7 separate regions of the Homo sapiens genome follow, and all the other regions are linked to region 4. Evidence: promoter capture Hi-C in 16 types of primary human blood cells and fetal thymus (Javierre and others, 2016). All regions are on one chromosome and are shown on one strand. Each heading gives the region's core, a stretch centred on a gene start or on the middle of the fragment in contact. The rest is flanking DNA. Distances are from core to core; before and after follow the strand shown. Region 1 overlaps ARL15 (ARF like GTPase 15). Region 2 overlaps ARL15 (ARF like GTPase 15). Region 3 overlaps ARL15 (ARF like GTPase 15). Region 4 holds the start of FST (follistatin). Region 5 overlaps ARL15 (ARF like GTPase 15). Region 6 overlaps ARL15 (ARF like GTPase 15). Region 7 overlaps ARL15 (ARF like GTPase 15).

The links. The method cuts DNA at HindIII sites, captures the fragments that hold promoters and counts their contacts. A CHiCAGO score of 5 or more calls a contact.
Region 1: a fragment that was not itself captured here is called in contact with the fragment with the promoter of FST in region 4 in 9 of 17 cell types (megakaryocytes, M2 macrophages, endothelial precursors and 6 more); the score reaches 10.7 in megakaryocytes.
Region 2: a contact is called between a fragment that was not itself captured here and the fragment with the promoter of FST in region 4, in 2 of 17 cell types (megakaryocytes and M1 macrophages). The highest score is 6.7, in megakaryocytes.
Region 3: a fragment that was not itself captured here is called in contact with the fragment with the promoter of FST in region 4 in 11 of 17 cell types (M2 macrophages, megakaryocytes, M0 macrophages and 8 more); the score reaches 12.4 in M2 macrophages.
Region 5: a contact is called between a fragment that was not itself captured here and the fragment with the promoter of FST in region 4, in 16 of 17 cell types (M1 macrophages, megakaryocytes, total B cells and 13 more). The highest score is 23.1, in M1 macrophages.
Region 6: a contact is called between a fragment that was not itself captured here and the fragment with the promoter of FST in region 4, in 2 of 17 cell types (megakaryocytes and M0 macrophages). The highest score is 7.4, in megakaryocytes.
Region 7: a contact is called between a fragment that was not itself captured here and the fragment with the promoter of FST in region 4, in 1 of 17 cell types (M1 macrophages). The highest score is 5.2, in M1 macrophages.

Annotation. Positions count from the first base shown.
Region 1 is chr5:54,189,849-54,193,211 of GRCh38, reverse strand. All of the region lies in intron 1 of ARL15 (ARF like GTPase 15), which reads left to right. Among named protein-coding and RNA genes, the nearest start is that of ARL15, 120 kb to the left of the region's middle. The HindIII fragment of the contact is 3,595 bases long and covers 1-3,363 here.
Region 2 is chr5:54,091,479-54,094,921 of GRCh38, reverse strand. All of the region lies in intron 4 of ARL15 (ARF like GTPase 15), which reads left to right. Among named protein-coding and RNA genes, the nearest start is that of MIR581, 140 kb to the right of the region's middle. The HindIII fragment of the contact is 4,752 bases long and covers 1-3,443 here.
Region 3 is chr5:54,171,506-54,174,616 of GRCh38, reverse strand. It overlaps ARL15 (ARF like GTPase 15), which reads left to right. Exons shown (of 5, transcript NM_019087.3): 2 at 2,689-2,833. Among named protein-coding and RNA genes, the nearest start is that of ARL15, 140 kb to the left of the region's middle. The HindIII fragment of the contact is 3,181 bases long and covers 1-3,067 here.
Region 4 is chr5:53,478,921-53,482,089 of GRCh38, reverse strand. It overlaps FST (follistatin), which reads right to left and starts at 1,461. Exons shown (of 6, transcript NM_013409.3): 1 at 1,214-1,461. The coding sequence starts at 1,298. RefSeq lists an enhancer at 159-228. The HindIII fragment of the contact is 5,217 bases long and covers 456-3,169 here.
Region 5 is chr5:54,209,424-54,212,921 of GRCh38, reverse strand. All of the region lies in intron 1 of ARL15 (ARF like GTPase 15), which reads left to right. Among named protein-coding and RNA genes, the nearest start is that of ARL15, 99 kb to the left of the region's middle. The HindIII fragment of the contact is 5,856 bases long and covers 1-3,498 here.
Region 6 is chr5:54,150,546-54,153,892 of GRCh38, reverse strand. All of the region lies in intron 3 of ARL15 (ARF like GTPase 15), which reads left to right. Among named protein-coding and RNA genes, the nearest start is that of ARL15, 160 kb to the left of the region's middle. The HindIII fragment of the contact is 906 bases long and covers 837-1,742 here.
Region 7 is chr5:54,119,339-54,122,588 of GRCh38, reverse strand. The region is part of intron 3 of ARL15 (ARF like GTPase 15); the gene reads left to right. Among named protein-coding and RNA genes, the nearest start is that of MIR581, 170 kb to the right of the region's middle. The HindIII fragment of the contact is 1,735 bases long and covers 993-2,727 here.

The DNA.
Region 1 (3,363 bases), core at 509-3,008, 710 kb before region 4:
GGAAATATAGAAAGAAGGAACAAGTTTCTTTTGTGGGTGGTAGGATTGATACTGAAATTGGATTTTTATTAGTTTGAGAGTACTTAAGGGAGATCTAGATAGAGATGTTTAACAGGAAGTTTAAAAACTCTAGTTTGGCTCTCCAGAGCAGGACGTTGAAGCAGATATGGGATTCAGAAGCCATCAAAATAGTAGAAGCCATGGGAATGGAAGGAATGTCCTACGTGAAACATGTCAAATGAAAAGTGTCACTGGACCTACATACATACTCTTGATTTCTGTCTTCACCACCCCAGTAAGATGGTGCTTGTGAAGATCACCAATATCCTCCATATTTCCAGATACAATGGTTATCTGTGTGTTCTGATCTAACTACTCAGAAGCATTCATCTTAGTTGCTTACCTCCTCCCTCTTGAAACACTTAAGTTTTCTTACTTTCATGACACTTACGTTTTCTGTTTTTTCTCTCAACAGACTGACTGGTTTCTCCTCTTGTGTCTTCTTGTAAAGATTAGAAAACTTTAAAACTCTGTCTAGACCCGCCCCCCACCCCAACTCTTTGTCATTAGCATGACCTTAGTGTTATAATTCTAGAGGAAGACAAAACACAGGAGGAGTCACATAAAAGTATAAGATTTGCCAAATTTAATAGGATGTGATTTAAAAGGATGCATGTTCCTTCCATTCAAGAAAAATGCGGCTAGAATATAGAATTCCATCAACCTCTGTCCAATGATAAAAGGTTAGGAAATAATTCAATAAAACAATTGTAAAAAATCTTGCCGTCATGGGACTTATGTTCTAGTGAGGGGAGACTGGCAATAAACAAATAAATAGTAAATTACTGAGTAAGTAAGAAGACAGTAAGTTCTGTGGGAAAACATGTAAGGTAGTTAGAACATGTTGTGGTGGGAAAGGTTGCAATTTTTTTGGCTTTTTTTTTTTTACTTATACTTTAAGTTTTAGGGTACATGTGCAGTTTTTAAGAGTAATCAGGGCAGGTCTTACTGAAAGGTGATATGTGAGCAAAGACCCAAACAACATAAAGGAGTGACTATGAACCATATGTATATCTAGGGCAAGAGATTTCTAAGCAGAGGGAATGGCAAGTGCAAAGGTCCTGAAGTTGGATGTTACCAAGCGTGGGCCAGGAACTGCAAGAAGGCCAGGTTGCTTGGAGTAACTGACTGAGTGAAGAAATAGTAGTAGATGTTGTCATAGAAATAATTAGGAGTGGGGGAGGAAGGAGGAAGGAGGCAGATTTTATAGGACCTTTTAGTCTGCTATAAGGGCTTTAATTTTTAGCCTGAGTGAGATGGGAGCCTTTGGAGTATTTTGAGTGGAAAAGAGACTTGATCTGACATATGTTAACAGGATCACTCTGGCTACTGTGCTGTAAATAGACTATACGGAGGTTTGAGTGAAAGCAGGGAGCCAGTGTGAGGCTTTTGGAATAATCAAAGCAAGAGATTGGGGTGGTAAGGGTAGAGGTGGTGAGAAGTAGTTGGAGTCTGTATATATATTGAAGCTATTGCTGACAGAATTTTCTGATTGATTGGATGTGTGGTTTGAGAGAAAAAGGGGTGCCAAGGATTATTCTAGAGTTTTTGGCCTGAGCAACTGAAAAAATGGAGCTGTTGTTAACTAAGGAGGAAAGTTTCAGGAGGAATAGGTTTGGGATGAGTTATAAATTGTGGGATTTTTTTTCAAAATTTTTTTTTATTTTTGTAAAATACATATAAAATTCACCATCTTAACTATTTTTAAGTATGCAGCTCAGTGGTATTAAATGCATTTATAATGTTATATCCCCACCATCACCAGCATACATCTTCATAACTCTTATTCATCTTGTAACACTGAAATTCTATACCCATTGAACAATAACTGCCTGTATCCCCCTCCTTATTTCCTGGTAACTACCATTCTACATTTGGTCTTTATGACTTTGACTAATTCTATCTTATATAAGTAGAGTCAAACTGTGTTTGTCTTTTTTACGGCTGGCTGGCTTATTTAACTTAGTCTTATGTCCTCAGGGTTGAAACATGCTGTAACATATGTCACAACTTCCTTCCTTTTTATAGCTAAATAGTAATCGATTATATGTATATATCACATTTTGCTTATCCATTCATTTGTTGATGGACATATGGGGTACTTCTATGCTTTAGCTGTTATGAGTGATGTTGCTATGAACATGAGTGTACAAACAACTCTTCCAGATCCTGCTTTCAGTTCTTTTGAGTATATATCCAGACATGGCATTATTGGATCAGATGATAATTCTATTTTTAATTTTTTGAGGTACTGCCATATTGTTTTTCACAGTGGCTATATCATTTTACATTCTTCCCAACAGTGTACAAGGGTTCTAATTTCTCCATATCCTTGCCAACACTTGTTATTTTCCATTATTCTGATAGTAGCTGTTATGGTTTGAATGTGCATGTCCTCCCCAAAATTCATATGATGGAACCTAAGACCCAATGTGATGGTATTAAAAGGTGAGGCCTTCAGGAGGTTATTAAGTCTGGGGGCTATGGCCTTATGAATGGGATTAATACCTTTATCCAATGCTTCCAGGAAACTAGCTAGGCCCTTTTCATCCTTCTGTCTTCTGCCATGTGAAGATGTAGCAGAAGGCCCTCACCAGACACAAAATGCCAGTGCTTTGATCCTGGACTTTCCAGCCTCCAGAACTGTGAGAAAATGAACTTCTGTTCTTTGTAAATTACGTATTTTGTTGGAGCAACAGGAACAGTCTAAGACAGTGGCCATCCTAATGATATCTCACTGTAATTTTTTTTTTTTTTTTGAGACAACGTCTCATTCTATCACCTAGGCTGGAGTGCAGTGGGGTGATCTTGGCTCACTGCAACCTCCACCTCCTGGGTTCAAGCAATTCTTCTGCCTCAGCCTCCTGAGTAGCTGAGATTACAGGTGTATACCACCACACCTGGCTAATTTTTTTGTATCTTTAGTAGAAACGGGGTTTCACCGTGTTGGCCAGGCTGGTCTCGAACTCCTGACCTCAAGTGATCCACCTGCCTTGACTCCCAAAGTGCTGGAATTACAGGCGTGAGCCACCACACCTAGCCCTCACTGTAGTTTTGATTTGTATTTTCCTGATGATTAGTGATATTGAGCATCTTTTCATGTACTTAATTAGCCTTTTGTATATCTTCTTTGGAGGAATGTCTTTTCAAATTCTTTGTCCATTTTTGAACAGTTTTTTTATTGTTCAGTTTTAGGAGTTGTCTACATATTCCAGACATTGATCTCTTATTAGAGATATGATTTAAAAATATTTTTTCCCATTCTATGGACTAACTTTTTACACTATTGACATTTTCTTTTGT
Region 2 (3,443 bases), core at 526-3,025, 610 kb before region 4:
TAACTTTTAGCAAGTCGGCAATATCCATTGGGCAGGTATCTTTGTTTTGATTATTGATGTATATATAGGTGCCTAGAACAGCTCCTTAAACATAGTAGATGCTCATAAATACTTGTCAGATGAACAAATTTATTCAGTGCTTATGATGGGACAAACAGTGCATTGTGTCCTGGATGTAGAGTAGTGAGCAATACAGACCCAGGCCTGGTCACTGTACAGCATTCCAAGTGGGTAGTTTTCAGAACTGTTTGCTTTATAGCAAAGTGATAGTAATTCTCTTTTAGAGGTAGGTAAAATGAATCATGTAGATAATGGTAATGAATTATTATTAAGGTATTATAGCATATCTTAAAATGCTTTATTTTATTAGGGCATTTAAGAGAAAATGGTAATAGTTACTTAAAATACATATATGAATTATATACCCCAGTGCCTTTTTTGTTGCTGTTATTTTACCTTTGTGTAGTCTCTATATCATTACTGGTTTTTTTTTTTTGTGCTATGTTATATCTTAGTTGGGAATTTCCATGTTTTATTCCTAATCAAAAATCTTTAATATTGTTGTTTTAAAACAGAATTCATGTACTTCTGACAGGATTTAATTAGCAAAATTATTCTTTTTTTCCTCTGTATTTTAAGAAATTGAAGTACTATTAGGTATTGGGAAAATATGGCAATTTTTAAGGCAATCCAAATAAAAGCCATATGAGACTCTACGTGGTCTGGTCTAGGAAGTCACAAATTTGGTGAGTATCAAAATGAACTGGTATGACATTTGCTAAGCAGGTGGTAAATGTCAAAAATTTGTCTACTAGCCCAGGATGGCCTATATGCCTCAAGTCTTGAGAACCACTGTGTCTCTAGGGTAATCATCTGAAATGCCTTTCATCTGTTTCCCGAGTTGTTTCTCAGACTAAACCCTGTATAGAAACCTTCACTCTGAGACCACACTGAAAACACATCTGCACTTAAGAATGTGGATTTTAAACACTGTGTGTGTTGCATGCACATAAATTATATTTAAGAGAATCTGTTTTTATAGCAGATCCTTGATATTCATCAGGATGCATTCTAAACTTCCCACCAATAGCAAAATCACTTGAATATTGTATGATAATGGTATTTAAGTAAGAAAAGAGTAAAAGTCATTTTTGCACATTTTTCAGAAATCACTTTCATATTTAAAAAGTTTAATAACCCAGATCAGTCTTTTTTCTTTTTTTTTTTTTTAACTTTAAATGTTTATATTATACTTAAATTATTAAATTACCTCCAGCATTCAATCTTTGCAAGAAATCCAAGTCAGTCATTTAATGGGTAGACTATGTGCAGGAAGCATAGTGTTACTGGAGACTTTCACACATACCTTCTGTCTTTGCATTATGAGAATCAGAACATCCACTAAAAGCCTAGCTCTTTATTAGGGAAAGGTAGCAATCAAATAGAGCATTGCTGAATGTGTGCCAAAGTGAGTGCAGGGAGAATGAGCAGGCTCTGTCACATCCTTACCCTGGGGCCAAATGCTGCCCAAGTTTTCTCGGTTCATGTCAGGCCAGGTTTGGGGTGCTTTCTTTGGTCTTTCAGTGACCCCAGCAGGATCCAGAGAACACCCTGGCCTAGGCATTTGGCTCAATGCCAGGACACCTTTCATGTTTGAGTTGAGCTATGGAGAATTCACCTTAGAACAGAGCAAACTCCCTAGGCAAGACTTCTGTGAGCACTCTACATTCAACAATAGACACCATTCTCAGTGATTACCAAGAATTCAATTACACATCCTTCTCAACAGTGAAGCACTGCATCTTTAACATCAAAGCATGGCTTTGTGTTTGTTCATCACTCATCCTTTATGAATACTTCCTTTATATGTCTGCATGTAAATGTGCCTATAATATATATGTGTATGGGATGTAACTATGGACCAATAAGGCTCTTTAAAAGACACCCCAGAAATGTATGAATGCCACCTTCTTCTAAGCACAGAGACTTTTAAAATTTATGATATATTGTTTTACAGGAAAAAATAAGGTAAGTTAAAATGATATAATTTGGGTCTTCTTTTCCTATTTAAAATACATCTAAGTTTGAAAATTAGTATCAGTGTAGGATTTGGCAGAATAAAGATCCGCCTAAAGATCCTCTGGATTGGAGTTATCTCTGAGATCTGGTCAGAGATATCTTAGAAACCCAGCCCAGTAAGGGAGAGAGCAGCCTCTCGAGGCTTGGTGCCCTGGTGATTTCAGGACTAGAGGATAGGAGAAGACAAGGAGCAAATGGATCTAAACGCTTTAAGGAATAATGCAAAGATTAAAAGGTTAATAGCCCCTATATCCAGGATCACCTTGAGTGGTTCTCTGGTTATTTCAGTGGTCTCCTTTGTTCCACTGAAATGGTCTTCTGGGTTCTACCATATGAGCCATACAAGAAAATCTCTATTTTTTATTTTTTGTTTGCTTTTTTAAAATTAAAAAATTGTACATTCCATGCTTGGTCATTCATTTCATTAGGAATTTGTCTAAGAACTATAGGTATGTGCTTGTTTCACCCATCCATTTATTCTTATATTCAATATGGATTGATGGAGCATCTAATTCCATAAGCCTGGTAAATAAAATGTACTCTTTAGAATAAAACATCTTTCATCACCTGAGGGTATTGACAAGAATATGCCAAGGATTCTAAAGCCAGATGCCAGAAGAATTCCAAAAAGATTGTGGACATCACTTGGAATAAATACATAGCACAGAGCTTCACCAGGAGACTATATTTGTACGTGTATTTTCAACCTAAACATTCCGGAACGAACGTGTATAGATTCCATATCCTGGTGATGGTGGTGGTGGTGGTGGTGTGTGTGTGTGTGTGTGTGTGTGTTTTCAATTTGAGCAGTCTATTAACCACATGTAAGTAGCTAGAGGCAGGAGAGGGAGAGGAATGTGCGGAAATGCATTTGACTTGGGATGTCTCATTTTCCAGAATCCCTGCCAAGGGCTGGCAAGCCCAGAAAGGCAGAGGCTGGCACCATTCCCTGCCACTCTCCGCCCTCTATGGTATACCCCATCAGACGCCTGTTGTAGGCGTGACCTAGATTCCCTAGCTGATGCCTGGGACCAGCAGGGCCCATTGCATTTTTTTTTTTTCTGTGTTTCCTCATCTCTTCATCTCAAGTCTTGCTCAGCCATTAAGTTAAAGAAATGCTCCAAAGGTCTGTGCCAAAATGTGTCTGCCCTTGTTCTTAGTGGCACAAGCCCGACTGTCAGTTGACAGGTGGGCACACCACCTGGGGAACAGTTAGCTTCCCATACCAGATGGAGTTTTACTGGTCCAGGAGAAGGCCCACAACTGGGTTGCTGGAACAGATGCTCTGCAGACAGTCTCTGGATCTGTTTTCTTCCTCCTCCCCATGCCCCACCTTTGCTTACTGCATATGAGCAGTGCCCTGT
Region 3 (3,111 bases), core at 228-2,727, 690 kb before region 4:
GAACTAAAGGAAGATCAGAGAAGAACATCTCATAGGATGAAGACAGACTGAAATAAGTAGGACTCCTCAGGCTTGAAAAGACTGAGAGGAAATACAATTAGCATGAATAAACCCATGAAGAATATGGGTCATAGAATTGTTTACCAGAAGCAGGCAGAACCTCTTGAGAACAGAGGAAAAGTGAATTTAGGACAAAAAGAAGCTCTAATTTACCAAGAAAGTTGATCCTGTACACCAAAACCACTCTTTTGGGAACTAGGCTAACTAATGGCATTGAAGCGAAGTGAAAAAGTCAGCGGTTTCTTATTTTGACAGTATTTTCTTGAAGCGTGGAGGGCTCAGAGAACATAGATCAAGCATCCTGTTAGTCTCTATGTTTTCTTTTTTCTTTGCTTAGGTAAAATTTAAGTGTCGTTCATTCTTCATTCAACAATTATCTGCTGAGGGTAGATTCTATGCCATGTTCTCTGCTAGACACTGGGAGTACTGAGATGAAGGGGGACAGACATGGTTCTCACAGGCTGGTGATGAATAAGAAACTGCAATTGTCTGTGTAATGAATTTATAAAAGCCCAGTAGAGCTGGACGTGAATTGCTAACACAATCTTAGGATTGGAGCAGACTGCCCTGAGGATGGGATGATTAAGTTGAGACCTAAAAATGATGAGGTGTTGGCTAAGTCCAGAATTGGGGGAAGAAGGAACAGCATATTAGATGCCTCAGTTGAGGTAAGAGAGGGCATGGCTGGAGGATGTAGGGGAGTGAGGGCAATGAGGCTGGTGAGCTTGGCTGGAGCAGATCATGGAGTGTGGGGTAGACCATGGTAAGGGTTTGGGCTCGAGAGCTGGGCAAAGTCACTGGGGTGGCTTAAGCACGTATGGTCAGATTTTCTCTTTATAAGCAATCCAGTCACTGCAATGTGGAGAATAGGGGGCACAAGAGCAAATATACTGGAACTAGTGGGAGGATATTGATGTTGTTCAGGTGATGATGGCCTGGGCTGGACAGAAGTGGACAGATCCTAGAGCTACTTCAGAGGTCATATGAACTAGATTTGTTGATTAGATGTGAGAAATGAGGGAGAGAAATAATCAAGTTTGATTTACGAGAGTATGACAGCCAATTAGTACTCAGATTTTATCTGAGTGAGATGAATCAACACAGGCTTTTTTATAGGTCTCTTCTCTCGTAATCTCCAGATGACCCAAAAGTGAGTGGATCTGCCTTCTTTCCTCCCTGTCTCCCCCTTTCCCTCTTTCTCTCATGAATCATTCAGGGTCTAAATGTTTCAGGCTCTATAAGCTGGCACATAGTTGGCCCCTATGGATATGGGATAAGTAGAAAGATCAAAAGCTGCACAAATGATACCCTGTCTCCCAAATCCTCTTGTTTTTCTTTCTTTCTTTCTTTTCTTTTCTTTTTTTTTTTTTTCTGAGATGGAGTCTCGCTCTTTTTGCCCAGGCTGGAGTGCAATAGTGTGACCTTGGCTCACTGCAACCTCTGCCACCCAGATTCAAGTGATTCTCCTGCCTCAGTCCCCTGAGTAGCTGGAATTACAGGTGCCTGCCACCATGCCTGGCTAATTTCTTTTTGTATTTTTAGTACAGACTGGGTTTCACCACATTGGCCAGACTGGTCCCAAAGTGCTGGGATTACAGGCCTGAGCCACTGTGCCTGGCCCAGATCCCCTTGTCTTTAACTCTTGCAGAGCAAACTATACTACAGTTCATAGTACCCTGGTTGATTGACCTGAAAAAGAATTTAGCAAAGGCCAGAAAGGCAGTGGTATGTATAGAGACTCTATTTAATGATTTTAAAAATTTTTGTATTTTGAAATAATATCAGTGGTAAGACCAGAACAAGGAGTTTTCCTCTATTCTCTTTACTCAGCATCACTAGTCATTAACATTTTGCCATGTTGGCTTTGTCACTCTCCTCACCAGATAAAGATGGAGCTGGAGATTTAGATTTTTCTGAGCCAGTTAATTGTGGACATCAAGACCCTTCACCTCTAAATACTTAGAGGTATTATAAATAATTAGAATATTTTCTCAGAACAATGATTTTTCTTACATAACCACAGTACATTGATTAAATTCAGGAAATTTAACCTTATACAGTACTCTTATCTAATATGCAGTCTATATTCAGTGTTCACTTATTGTCTCAATAATGTCATTTATGGCTTTTTTTTTCCCCTTTTGATCTAGGATCCAGTCCAAGATATATTGCATTTTATTATTATGTCTTTTTAGTCTTCTTTAACATGGAACAGTTCCTCAGTCTTTCTTTGACTTTTAAGACATTGATATTTTGGAGGAGAACAGGCCAGTTGCCTTATGGAATACTCCTTAGATTGGCTTTATCTGGTTTCCTCATGCTTAGATTCAGATTGTGTGGTTTTGGCAGGCAAGCTGTGGGATGATGTCATGCTTTTTGCAGTGCACCTGCCATAGCAGGAAGGGAGGCATGAAGTAGAAAAACATTTCATAACTAAGAATGTTAACTTTGATCACTTGGCTAGAGTGGTGTCTCCAGGTTTCACTGTTCTAAAGTTACCGTTTTCTTCCTTATAGGTAATACTTTATTCAATTACCTCTTAATACTTACTCAGTCATTTTAAATGTGACTATGGTTTATTTCCATACTGTCATTTAAAGGAACATTTTTTTCCCCTTCTTTTGGCAGTGTTTTAGAGCACTTTGCTGCAAGGGACCACCACCTGCACGACCAGAATATGACCTGGTTTGCATAGGCCTCACAGGTTCTGGCAAAACCAGTCTGTTGTCCAAACTCTGCAGTGAAAGCCCCGATAACGTCGTGTCGACCACAGGTGGGTACTGTGCTGGGGTTCTGTCCCTTCTTCTTTCTCATCCCAAGATGTCCTAGTTTCCTGTGCAATTTATCCCCTCCCTTCTACTTATAGTTTAATGCTTTAATCAGTTTATTTTAATTTTAAACACTATCTCTTTTTCAAAAAAGATTTGAAATGAATTTAATAGCATTAAATTGCTGTATCCTATATCCCTCTAGCAGGTCATTTCAGTGGCACTGAATAAATGAAGCTTGGGAAAATATTAATACAAATGAATCCTGAAATCTGGAACTCTG
Region 4 (3,169 bases), core at 212-2,711:
GGAGCACGCCCGCGGCCACCGCGATCTTTCGAAATCTCCGAGGGCTGCTTTCCTCCGCGCCCACGTCCGGGCACCAGGCAGAGCCTCTCCTCTAAAGGCGGGCAACCCAGCGCAGTGCCATGCAGACGGCGAGGGGCAGTGCCCAGGAGGGCAGTTTACAACATACTTAAAATGTTAACGCTGAAGCAGGGAAAGTAATGCCTTAAGGTGGGGGGAGGGGGGAGTCTTCCTACCATTTCACGGTTATAAGTACCTATCTCATACCTAGCAAGAAATATTTGCAAGTGATTTCTCCCTCTTCCCCCTTTTTAATGTTCGGATTTGGGTCGAGAAGACTTCTCATGAATCACCAATATGACTTTAACAATCATTGGATCGCAAGCTGCTATTATTATTTTAAACATTCTGCCCAAAGACTAATTGAAATAAACAAATCTATTTTTAAAAGGCAAGCTTCAGAAATTTGCTCTTAACCCATTTCAGAATTTAAGTCAGTTATGGGCTGCTCACTGTTTTACAGAAAGCTAAGGGTCAGAAAGAAGAATGAGGCAGAGGGGAAAAAAACTGTAAAGTGCTCAAAGCACTTTGGGGTAATAATTTGGCTTTTTTTTTTTTTTTTTTTTTTTTGCGAGAATGGGGGATGGGGTTGGAAGAAGCATCCACTAGGCAGAAAGCTACTTCCCTTGAAAATCTTCAGCACCCACATTTCCAAGTTTGGGCAAAGTTTCTGAAACCACGTCCCCCAGCCACCAAATAAAATTCAGTATCTCTCCCCCAAACCCCCAGGTTTTCTTTTCTTTCTTTCCTTTTTTTTTTTTAAGTATCCAAAAGATGTGGGAGGGAGAGAGATGAGACTGCAAATGGGTCGACTGAAATCTCCAGGCTACTACTGATACTTGTTCCCTTCTTCAGAGCCAAACAGAGGAGATCACATCTAAAGTTATCATGGCCAGAACTTGGAGCATTTAACCCTAACTACTAAGACCCCAGCTCGCTCCCTTTCCTTTTTCAAGATAACCGAGCTCCAAACTCAGTTCCCAGTCCTAAAGTGTCATTGCCTACAATTTTCCCACTCCTCTCCATCCCGGAGTCCCCAAGTTGGTTCAACATCTTCCGAGAGCAGCGTTGCTCAGAACAGACCAAGTGGAGACCACAGAAAAGTCGACCCCCCTGTCCTCAGCCAAGCCTCCCCAGCGCATCCCCACTCGCTTACCCTGGGCACTGCGGTCCTCCATGAACTGGCAGAGCAGCAGCAGCAGGAGGCAAAGCCCACCCGGCTGGTGCCTCGCGCGGACCATCCTGGGGGCAGGCGCGGGGCGAGGAGCGCAGCGGCGCGGGGAGCCGGCGCGGCGGCGGGTGGCTCGGGCGAGCGGCGCGCGTCGCAGAGGCCAGCGGCGGAGGGCGCAGCGATCCCGGCGCAGCCCCGCGCTCGCCGCCGGCCGCCCGCGCGATTCAATGGACGTCAGAAGCCGGGCGCAGCCGCGCTTTAAATCTAGACGGGGGTCTCCGCGGTTTGCGGTGGGCGGTCTCCCAGTGTGTGGGGCTGTGGGAGGGCGGCCGCGAGCGAGGGTGTGCGCGGCTCCTTGGGGGTGGGGAGCTTTCAAAAGTTCAGTGTGAATCAGGTGACATTTCCCACCTTCTGGAAACCCTTCCCAATTATCTTTCGGAGGTGCCCGAAATCAAAACGGCTGGAAGGGAATCGTCGAGTTCTTATTTGCGTAGGAGCGAGAGGGAGGGGGAAGGCGACCGGGGCGGGGGTTGGGGGCTACGCGTCGGGGGTGGGGAGTGGGGAAGAACACCCACTTCAAGTCCTGCTCGCCGCCGCTCGCCGGCAGCGCCGGCGCGCCCGGGGTGGCGGGTGTGTGTGTGAGTGTGTGTGTGAGTGTGTGTGCGCGCGCGCGCGAGTGTGAGAGGGAGGGCGCGGTGGGGGCGCTGGAGGCGGTGGCGGGGGGAACCCGGGAGTTTGTCTCCGTGCTGCCTCTCCTCCGCTCCAAAGAGACTTTTGCAAACGGCCGAAGAGCCCCGGGCTGCCCAAATATCCCGCCCCGGGTCGGGTCGGAGCGCGCCGGCCTCGCGGCGGTTCCGGGCACCCGCAGCCTGGGCGCGGGACCCGCGAGGTTTTGTGTCTGGGTCTGTGAGTGCCTGACTTTGCAGCCACCCCCAGCCCAGAGGTGTTGCTAGGAACCCCGGCCCCGGCACCTTCCACCCTGGCAGAGCGCTACCGAGACGCGGCCCTTCGTCTGGACTAGTCGGAAGCAAACAAAAATGTTTAACACCTCAGGCCCGGTCTCCCCGCGGCACAGCCTCGCCCTCTCCCTTTCTTTTCTCCCCTTTCACTTCGCGGCGTCTGGAGTCGGAGCCCGGAGCGGGGGCGCCGACGTAGGCGGTCTGGCCCCCCCTTCCTCTCCCGCCTGGAGACTCCCCAGTTTCTGTCCTGTGTGCCTCTGTCTGTCTCTCAGTCTCCTCGGCTCCAATCTCTCTCTCTTTCTGTCTCGTCTTCTCTCTTTTCGCGGAATAAAAAAGATTGCAACATCCATAATGAACTTCTGTAGCCTCAGTTTATTAAGTACAGTGCCTGGCATTCTTCGCTGAAAGTTGGCGGGTCTCTCATTTATAACATTTTTGGCACCGCTGAATGAAACTGAGGAGGCGATATTTCCTTTTATATAAAACGATTACTTCACGGAAAATGCTATATTGTTTATTCCAAAGCTGCCTTTTAAATTTGTTCTTTTCGCATCTGAAGCCCGAAGGACAACAGATAGCGAAGTATGCAGACAAAATTCTTGGACATTCGCAGGTCACTGGGATTTGTTCTACGAATTTCAAATCTGCCCTTCTTCCCCCCCTGCAACTGCCCTCCCCCCGCCAGACCCTCCCCCAGTCCTCCTCTAGCCCTCCCACCCCCCATCTTCCGTCAACCTTCCCCCCTCCACAACTGCAAATAACTCAGTGATAACAGATTTTTTTCCACCAACTGCAGGAGATAGTGCTAATCTTTTAATAAAAGATCCCATTACAATGGGATCTGTCTGGACAGACTATAATAGATCCCGAAATACAGCCGTGCTAATATTAGAAGACAGTTGTTTGGGTGCCTCTCAGACGGGCCCAAGCCCCCCTTTGAAAGTGGGCATGAATCACAAAGCCCCGCGGCCGCCGCACCTGC
Region 5 (3,498 bases), core at 162-2,661, 730 kb before region 4:
GCATGGGTAGGTTAAGTGTTTTGGCTAAGGTCATAAAACTGGGCTGGCAGGACTGCTATTCAGATTTCTCACTCTGCATCTCCCCCCCATTAAATCACTACTTTTAGGTAGCTAACAGTAGATTCACTCTTATTTGTTCCCCACCCCTACCACCAAACATGCTTAATCTTTCTCAATCTCCATTTGACTAATTAGTTCACAGCTAAGAAAGCATATTTTCTTTGAGCAGATTATGCCAATAGAGAAAACAGAAAAAATAGTCCAACAGGACAAACACTGTTCATTGTACACCCAATAGCCATTTATCCTTCTTGCTAAAATACCCTGGTCTGAGGCAGCAATGTGTCTAGCCCCAGGCAATGAATGAACCATGATTGGTCTAAGCCACTTAGACTCCTGTGTTCCCTGTTTTCTCAGCTTCTCTTACAACTAGATGTGGCTGTGTTGCTCGGTTCTGACTAGTGATCTTATGGGGGAGGGGGTCTGCTTGAGGTTCTGTGGGGAAAGTTTTTGCTTTCCTGTGAAAAGGGACAGATGTGGCCTTTTCCCTTTTCTACCTTCCTTTTCCCTTTTCCTCTTCTTAAACAGAAATGTGACATCTGGAGCTGATGTGCCCTTCTTACTACCTTACAAAAAAGGCCAGCTTCTTTTTAATTAAGTCTCATTTGTTTAAACCAGGGATTGACATTTTGGTTAAACCATTGGTTGGCAAATTATGACCCATTGGCTGATTGCCTATTTTTGTAAGTAAAGTGTTACTGAAACACAGCCACGTATTGACTGTGGCTGCCTTCATGCTATGACAGAGTTGAGTAATTGTGACGGAGACTATATGGCCTGCAGGTCTTAAATATTTACTCTCTGGCCCTTTAGGTTTGGTGATGCCGTTTAAAGCACCTAACATGAATTTTCTGTTACTTGTAGCCAGACACATTCCTAATGGAATCAACCAATAACCAAGATCCTTAAACAAATTAGTGACTTGGCATTTCTTCCTACTCAAATTACTCTTTTCTGGTTAAGTAGGTGTGCTCCAGATAAGCATATTCCTCATTTTGGACTTTATCTACTCCTCTTTATTTCCTTCCTGAACTCTCTGATTATCATATTCTTTTTAAAAGTAAGATAAGAGTATAAAAGTATTTCATTTGGCCGGTCACGGTGGCTCGTGCCTGTAATCCCAGCACTTTGGGAGACTGAGGCGGTCGGATCACCTGAGGTCAGGAGTTCAAGACCAGCCTGCCCAACATGGCAAAACCCTGTCTCTACTAAAAATACAAAAAATTAGCCAGGTATGGTGGCGGGCACCTGTATTCCCAGCTACTCGCGAGGCTGAGGCAGGAGAATCGCTTGAACCTGGGAGGCAGAGGTTGCCGTGAGCTGAGATTGCACCACTGCACTCCAGCCTGGGTGACAAAAGTGAAACTCTGTCTCAAAAAAAAAAAAAAAAAAAAGTGTTTCATTTAAGCGCTGCCTAAAACTAATGTCAGCTCTTTGATATTCCAATCTTTTAACTGCCCAAGGAATTATTTTCTAATGCTCAGATAAAATTGTCAGGGCTTTCACTCGGTGAGTAGGGTCTATTCATGGATCTTAAAACCTGAACCGATAGAACAGCTCTACAGCTCCTTGTATTCTGCTCCCAACCTTCCTGTCCCCTCCAAACTTGTTGCCCTTTGTGGTCTGGTGGAAGCAGGAGAAAACCCTGCAATAGCCCCCACTCTGTGACATTTTGGAATACTTTGTGCATACCAAACAAACCACTAACTTGATTTGGGAAGATAAACTGAAAATACATTTCTAGTTCAGTAATAGCTATAATTGGACAGTCTGTCTTTTGAACAATAAAAATAATCCTAGTTTCGTTTTGTGTAAAGATATAACATCTTATGTGTGACTGCAAAAATAAGCAAAAACTACTTATTAAAATATGTGTATTTTCATTTTGTTTGCTGACAGTGTCAGGTAGTAATTGTGCTGGTTTTGCAGACTCTGTAATGTGTTATTGCAGAAAAAGCACTAGATTGGGTTCTATGAGACTGAATTAACCATGAGTTGTTTGTCAACTGAATTAACTTCTCTGTGCCACAGTTTTGCATCTCAAGGAAAAGAGATTGAACTATGTGGCATATAAGGTCTCTTTCAATTCTAATATATTTGTATTTGTAAATATTCTTCAGGGTGGCTAGAACCTACTTGAGGATTAGTCAATTCAAATAATAGCAACAGCAGCAACAACTGCAACAAAACTTCCTTTGGAAAATCAACATACTTTAGTCAGAATGGCCCTTTAATTTTTAAGGCCCAGATGCCTCAAAGGATTTGTCATGTACAGTTATCATTTGTTGTCAGAGGACTATTCTGGGGGATAGAATGTTATGGGTGAATTTGGGTTCTGTGATGGCCATTTGCAATGCTTTAGCTTGATAATCAAATATAATATATTTCACAATACATTTATCATTTTGTTGAAATAACGTAATGAGTGAAGCCATTGTCTTGAAGTACAAGTTTCCAAGAGAATATTCGGAGCAAATTGGCTGGAAAGTGAGTGGATTATAGTAAAATAAAATAGATAATAGGCATTATTTTTAATAAAATGTTCTTGCCTTGCTTAAGAAATATAGTTCATGAAAAAGAAAATTATAATTTGATTGGGAGGATTTTATGGTAATGATGCCTGTGTCACAGAATCTTACAATATATTTTGAAGTGGGTACGTTTAAAAATGTCTTGCTTTTTAGAAGAATACTTAATAACAAAGAAAAAGCATATTTTTGTTAATTTTACTTGTTATGCCTCTTTGCCTTTTCAGCTTTCATGGAAGACATTAAGGAAAAAAAAGTTGGCATTGTATTCAAGCCAAATATTAGGACACAAAGAAGAAATTAATGTTATTTCTACCATTTATTCACCTTTTCTTCCTTTTTCAAAGAACTCCTTAGCTCTTCTGTTTTATTAGCATTCTATAATCCTCTAAGTCACTGTGTATCTTTATATTTTGAAGAGAAAGTTGCCATGTAAGAAAAAGATAGCTTTCTTACTTCTTTGAGGGAGAAGATAGGCTATGAATAAATAAAAGATAAAAAATAAGAAAGGCTGTCAGTTTCAAACACTCTGGAAGAATGTTGACTTTGCAAGTAACTGTTCAAAAATTAGTCTCTTTATACAGCATGTCTGGCCAATGTCTAGGTAAAAGAAATGACCTGAGGTGAATGATTTTTTTTTTCATTATATGTGCTTTAAGCTAAAGACGACCTCAAAATAGTCCTTTAAAAAGAATGGTACTACTTGTGCTGTAAAATACAGGTATACATTTTCTAATAGTATAAGGGAGACAGAAATGGATATTCAATTCTAGTCCATATTTCTTGGCTTTTTATTATTTAGTTTTTATTTTTATCAGGGTTGTATATGAACATTTTCTAAAAGATCAAATAATCTTATAGAACTTATTATGTGAAAACCAGTGGTCAATGGTGAACTTCTTCTTCCTTC
Region 6 (3,347 bases), core at 40-2,539, 670 kb before region 4:
AGAGAGTTATCTTCCATCTCTTTAATCACTTTGTGATATTGGCCTTACCTTGTTTTGTTTTGTTTTGTTTATTTTCCCTTAAGGTCATTCTAACTGTGACCTATTTTTAGCTCGATGAGATTGTAACACCAACTTTACGCCATTTTAATAGCGTTTGGTACCTTCTTATTTTTATCTAATAAAAAACTGGCTGATCTTTTCAGGTGTCTGTTTTCAGTTCGCTATGTGTAGGACAGGTTCGCTTCTGCCAGTCAATTTCATATTCACTTTTAGCTTTATAGCATTAATATATAAAACAACCATGATCAATAAATTCCGATTTTTCTTTAAGACATTTGGTTTTGTCATTTTGACTCCAAAAATTATAAAACATGAATGTTCTTATAATAATTTTTCTATGCAAAGTTTTTAAAAGACTGTGTTCTATTAGGGTATTTTAAATTATAATTGTACTTTTAAGAAAAATAAATGTATGGCATATTAACCATGCCATATGCTTAAAACCTTAAATACAATGGTTGCTCAGAAACTATTGATAAATTAACGTCTAGAAATTAGTTTAATTTAATTTAATTCAAAAAAGAAATACAAGCAGCTGGCAGAACATTCAAATGAAACAAAATAATCTTTCTCCTATTTAAAATTTCCAGATGCATGGTTTATAAAAAAATGCTTTTTTGCTTTGTGGCTTCTGCTGATTATTCCTTGGTGACAATAATATTACTTATGGATATTTAAAAATCAAAGAACACATTGTAAATGCATGGTTTGAGAGTTATATGGGTTTTAAATATGGCTGTTACTAAGTATTTTATTTTTAGGTTGGACACAAAGCTTTTATTGAACACCTTCCAGGTATAAGAAACTATTGGTTGGTTAATAAGACATTTATTACATATGATGTTTACTTGGATGAAACAAACAGTAACTGTATGTGGACAGTTTTAAAAAAAGTGAACACCAAGGAATTCGTAAGGTTGGCTCTGTGCCATCAAAATTCAGTACAATGAAAGATCAAGTTAGGGGACTAGAGGTACATAAGGTGGGAATAGGTCTGTTCTCAAGCACGGTTTAATTTTGCCGAAAGAGCTGTTCCCTGACAGTTGCTGAAATGGAAATTACAATGGAGAGGATACCATAGGATTTGGTGGTTATGTTTTAGTTGGTACCTATTTCGTAATGAGGTTAAGAGATGCAGGTAAAAGGCAGAGCCTCAGGGATCAGAGCAGATACATTCGTTCCAGGCTAGTGATACATAAGTTTTTGGCATGTGTTAGTATTGAAGAGCAAATTTCTAGCCTATGCATAGATTCTTTTACTTTCTCAACTTTAATAGCTCTGTTTCCAGTTGACACAGTGTCTGAAGGAAGAGGGGACTTTCTGAGTAGAATCCAATTGTGTATCCTGTGTCACATGCTCGGGGGCAAGCACTTAAGGGAGTTGACTTCTTGACAGCTCATTCACTAAGTCATTTCCTCAAATATTTTTTGAGGCTAGGTACTAGGTTATGTCTCAACCAGGAACACATGAAAAGCTAGGCTAACCTGTATAAAGTGTAGCTTTCCTAGGAGTTAACGTGTATGCTAGATATGAAGGGGATCATCCCAAAATAAGGTGTATGTGCACTTAGGGGGAATTATGACTGGCTGAAATCAAGTTGTCTGAGAGGGAGTTGCTTGACTGAGAATTTCTGGGAGGAGAGAGTTATATGTTTTATGATCAATGTGTGAAGATATGAAGCTTTTATTCACCAGTGGAGGGTTGCTCAGAAGACAGGTTAATCAGAGTTCAATCACATTGTCAATCAGAGAAAAATTCTGAATTCAGGGGAGGACCTCAAGAAAATAGGTGGTAAATATAGAGATTAAGAGCCAGGACAGTGATGAATTCTTAGTGAGGAATGCCCAGGTAGTTCTCCTTATCCTGGGGTTAATTCAGGAGAACAGCATGGCCCCTGTTCTCCCTGCTAATGTCCTTCCTCTACCCATTTCAGATAGTTCCAAGGCTCTTCTTCACTCTTTCCCAGTCTTAAGTTAAAATTCTCACTTCTTCAAAATAGGGAAGCGCATAAACCTGTGCTCATTATCTATTTAGAAGAAATGATATGGGGTGAGGAAACAATGAATAATGGAGTTACACTCAGTGAAAGTCACTTTTGGGGATCTTAATGACAAACTATATGTTTGCACACACAAACATATGTTTGTGTGTGAATATATATGTGTTGAATATATATTACTTATAAAAATTATTATTTCCTCTTACCAATTTTCTGTTTTGTGAAAGTGTTTTTATATCTTTTTCCTGAAAAATTCTTAAAATTCTCATTCACATCAATTTCTTTTCATGTGGTGTTTTCTTACTGTTCACTTGATCATTTTACCACAATTAATTATGGGTCTAGCATGGTCCTATGGGCAGAGAATGAAAGATCTAAGCACAGCCCTCATCTTCAGGGAACTCCTCATTCAGTGATGGAGACATTCATGAAAAGAGAAATAGGAAATTAGTGAAAATTTTGAAAATAATGAAATGAAAGGGAAAAAAATTAAGTGCAGAAGTACAAGGTAAATTATGACACAGTGATAGTCTAGCCCAGTGGTTTGGTGGGCCATTTCTATTTTGCTATTTTAAGAATGCCTTGTTCTCAACTACCTGTCACACCCTCCAGGCTGCAGTGATTATGCCTATCTTTTTGTGAAATTGGAGCTCTAAATTTTCTTCTTCTGTTTTGCCCTTATTCCCTTTTCTCTCCCCTACACAGTCTCAGTCTTTGCAACTTCATGCCTAGAGAGTAGATGCTATTATTATCTCACAGATAAGATAACACCAGACATGATGATTTGACTGTGGTCATTTGGAGCCGGAGGTTGGTATCAGTCTGAGCTCTTGTGCCTAACCAGTGCACTCTACACCTACAGCACTTTACCCAGGGCCTGGCACAAGAGAAGTGCTCCCACCTGTTATTTGCTGCTGTTTGTATCATTATTATTTGCATGATTTGAAGTCTTCACATGTTGGTTTGGTTTTTTTTTTTTTTTGGTTAACAGTGTGTTGGTAAAACACCATTTTTTATTTTTTATTTATTTATTTTTGAGACAGAGTCTTGCTCCGTTGCCCAGGATGGAATGCAGTGGTGCAATCTCGGCTCACTGCAACCTCTGCCTCATGGGTTCAAGTAATTCTCCTGCCTCAGCCTCCCGAGTAGCTGGGTTTACAGGCATGAGCCACCGCACGTCGCTAATTTTTGTATGTTTAGTAGAGACAAGGTTTCGCCATGTTGGCCAGGCTGGTCTCGAACTCCTGACCTCAAATGATCTGCCCTCAGCCTCCCAAAGTGCTGAGAT
Region 7 (3,250 bases), core at 611-3,110, 640 kb before region 4:
AGTACCAATTTTTGGTTATCTATGCTTTATAACAAAAGAAAGAGAAATGTCATAAAGTGTAATAATAGCTTTATATGTATGTGTATGTATACTGTATGTCAGCCTTGTAGGTAACATCATCTCTCAAAGGTATGCGTATACACGCACATTGCGCACGCATGCACGTGCACATGTGGACAAAACCAGTTTGTATTAGTGATCAGTTTTGGTTTTCATAAGGGTGTCACCTGAATGTTAACACGACTAATCATGCTGTTTGTGTTCATGTCTAGTTGAAGACACCTGTACTGAAAGAACATGCGTTTTTGTCTGAAGGGGAGAAATTTCTTATTTGGTGTTAGTCAAGGGAAGAAATCTAGACAGCAATGAGGGAGGAAGAAACTGGAGATTATAAAATACTGAGTCTGAAGGTGATACAGGACATAGGAGAAAGTTAGTTGAACAGAAAAAGAAAGGGTCTGTCCCAAGTAAAAACTTTGGTTTATTTTTTTATAACATTGGTTTTCTCAGGAATTACAGAAAATCTATTCTTTGCCTCTTTTGTTCAGCATCTGGTAGCCTTTTACTTCCAGGTACTGAGCTAACTTGAGTTAGTTCTTCGTTCAGTAGTTCTGTGAGTTATAGGCTTAAATGGTGGACAAATGATAATAGTAACATCCACAACAAAATGACAGTTAACACTTGTGAACAGTTAGCATATTCTACGTACTGTGTGAAAAAAGTTATTTAATCCTCACAATCCTATGAGGTAATTAAGTATTATTATTTTCCTCTCTTTTATTGAGAGGGAAACTGAGGCTTGGAACAATTAAGCGGAGTTTTCATGTTACTTAGATGATATGTGGCAGAGCCAGGCTTTGAACTCAGTAAGAGTCCATGCTGTTCATCACTCTACCATCATTCTGTCCTTCAGGGCTGAATCTCACTCCTGAGATTCACTGCTTTGTTTTCAAGGAAAATTGTGTACTGAATTCTCAAAAAAATTAGAAGCTTTGGAAAGTTTTAGAACATACTTGATCCCTAAACTTAGAGCTGCCCAAATTTATTTATGAGTTATAAAGTGCATTGACTTATCTAATTACATAATTCGATATGCACATTATAAAATTAAACATTGATGTCACCTCCCTGAAATCTAGACTTTTTCTTTGCCATTCACTATTTTATGCTTGAGCCTGAACATGATGCTGGGTGGCCTTCTGTCATCAATAGGGGGACAACAACTAGATCAAAGGGAATGGGCCAGGTGGAGAAATGGAACTCTCATTTTAAGAGCTCTGATAAGCATTTCCAAAAAGAATGTCATAGAGACAGTTAAAAGATGAAAGAGCAAATGTGAGTGCAGTCATATATTGCAGAGCAAGCATAATTCTCTTACAATTTTGTTATGTGAGTAAATATGGTAATAACTTGTTTTGAGGTCTGATTAGTCACAGACGAAAAAACACTCAAAGTGAGGGACAAATTTACTATTCCACTTTTGAACATCAAGGCTTATAGTATGTGACTCTAATTATACTTTATGCTATATAGGATGAGACATTAGATGGTTTTTAACTTTTTCCGTGAGTTTGTCTTAATCTAGAACCTCTTGCATCTTTATCAGTTTTGTCACAGGATTGGTACGTTAAAGTTTCTGATAAAAAAGAAAAAATACTGGTTGGGGAAATTGGCAAGTTGTGCTAGAAAGCAGTAGCATTTCCGCATTATTAAAAGATCTTATTTCATCCTGGGTATGCAACAAATATCTTTCTGTCAGCCAGGAAGTCTCCATTTTGGCTCTTCCCAATTTATTGCTTTGGTCAACGTCAATTGCAGCAAAGCTGTTCCCACTAGCTTTTCTAGTCTTGCCACCAGATTTTCTAGAATACCACAAAAGTGTTTTGTTTTTTGTGTCATGCCAATGGCTCAAGAATTAGCTGCTTAAAAAACATTTGGAACTATGCAAGTTGTGATCCCCTTGGCATCTGTGGTTCTTCTAAGGAGTCAGCTGTTGGCTTTTGCAGGAGTACGGAAGGGAACATTTCTCCAGAACTGTTCCCACAGCTTTTTCTTTCTATGCTTTCAGTTTCTCTTGGGTACTGATTCTGTTGGACATCAGAACAGTATAAAGGTTCATAAATAGGATAGAATCAAAAAGTATCCCAAGGAACATAGGTTAATGTACTTTGTGGTTTTAGTACAGTGCTTAGCACGTGCTGTATTATGGCTGCATGTTTTCAAATACTACGACAGGACTCTGAGAAAGGCCTATGAGTAGAGTGAAGTTTCATTGTAAATATGTTTAAGGAATTCTTAATATCAGATGCTGAATGAGAGATTCCTTGCAGAACTGGGTATGTACCAGAAACATAAAAATTAGTTGCTAATAACTTTACTCAAGCCACCACCATCAACCAAAAAGATAGATTATTTGTATAGCAAAGAATGATTTGCTTGGTAAATTCTACATTCTACTTTTGAGAAATCAGAATAAGTATTCTATAAAAGATTAATTCTTTAAAAACTATTGAGTTTCCATTATGGGTTAGATGTGGTCAGAGTATGGTGATGAATCAGACACGAAAATGCACAAAACTCCCATATGGTTCTTCCAGTGTAATCAGGAAGATGAACTATGCATTTAGATTACTATGCTACAGGGTAGAAAGTGTTACATGGAGAACCAAGAGAAACAGACCAGAAGATTTTTAGAAATTATTCCCAGCTGCAAGATCAGGTAAAGCTTGGTGGAGTAGGCAACATTTGATCTGGCCCCTGAAGCGCATGTAGTGGTTTGAATTTACAAGAACTAAGGGGACAACTCACACGGTAGTAACTCCAGGCAAAGGAGATAACAAAACCAAATGCATAAGGGTGGAAACCTTAGGTCTGGTCCAGGAGAGCAAAACGTTTTGCTCATTTGTGGAGTATCTAAGGAGATCAACAGAGGAACATGGTAGGAATGGCAAAGTGGAGCCAGATTATGGAGAACTATAAATGCTAAATCAAGTCATTTGAGAACTTCAAGTTATAGGCACTTAATGTTTTTGAGCAGAGTAGTGATATAATTTGAGCTAGTTTTCTGGACAAGTATTAGTATATTTGTGATAGTTTGTGCTAGTTTTCTAGGTAAGTATCTTGGTTCATTTGAGACTGGGTAATTTATAAGCAATAGGAGTTTTTTTTGGCTCGGTACGGCTAGGAAATCCAAGTTCAAGGGGTCTCATCTGGCAAGGGTCTTCTTGCTGCATCAAAACGTGCAGAAGGT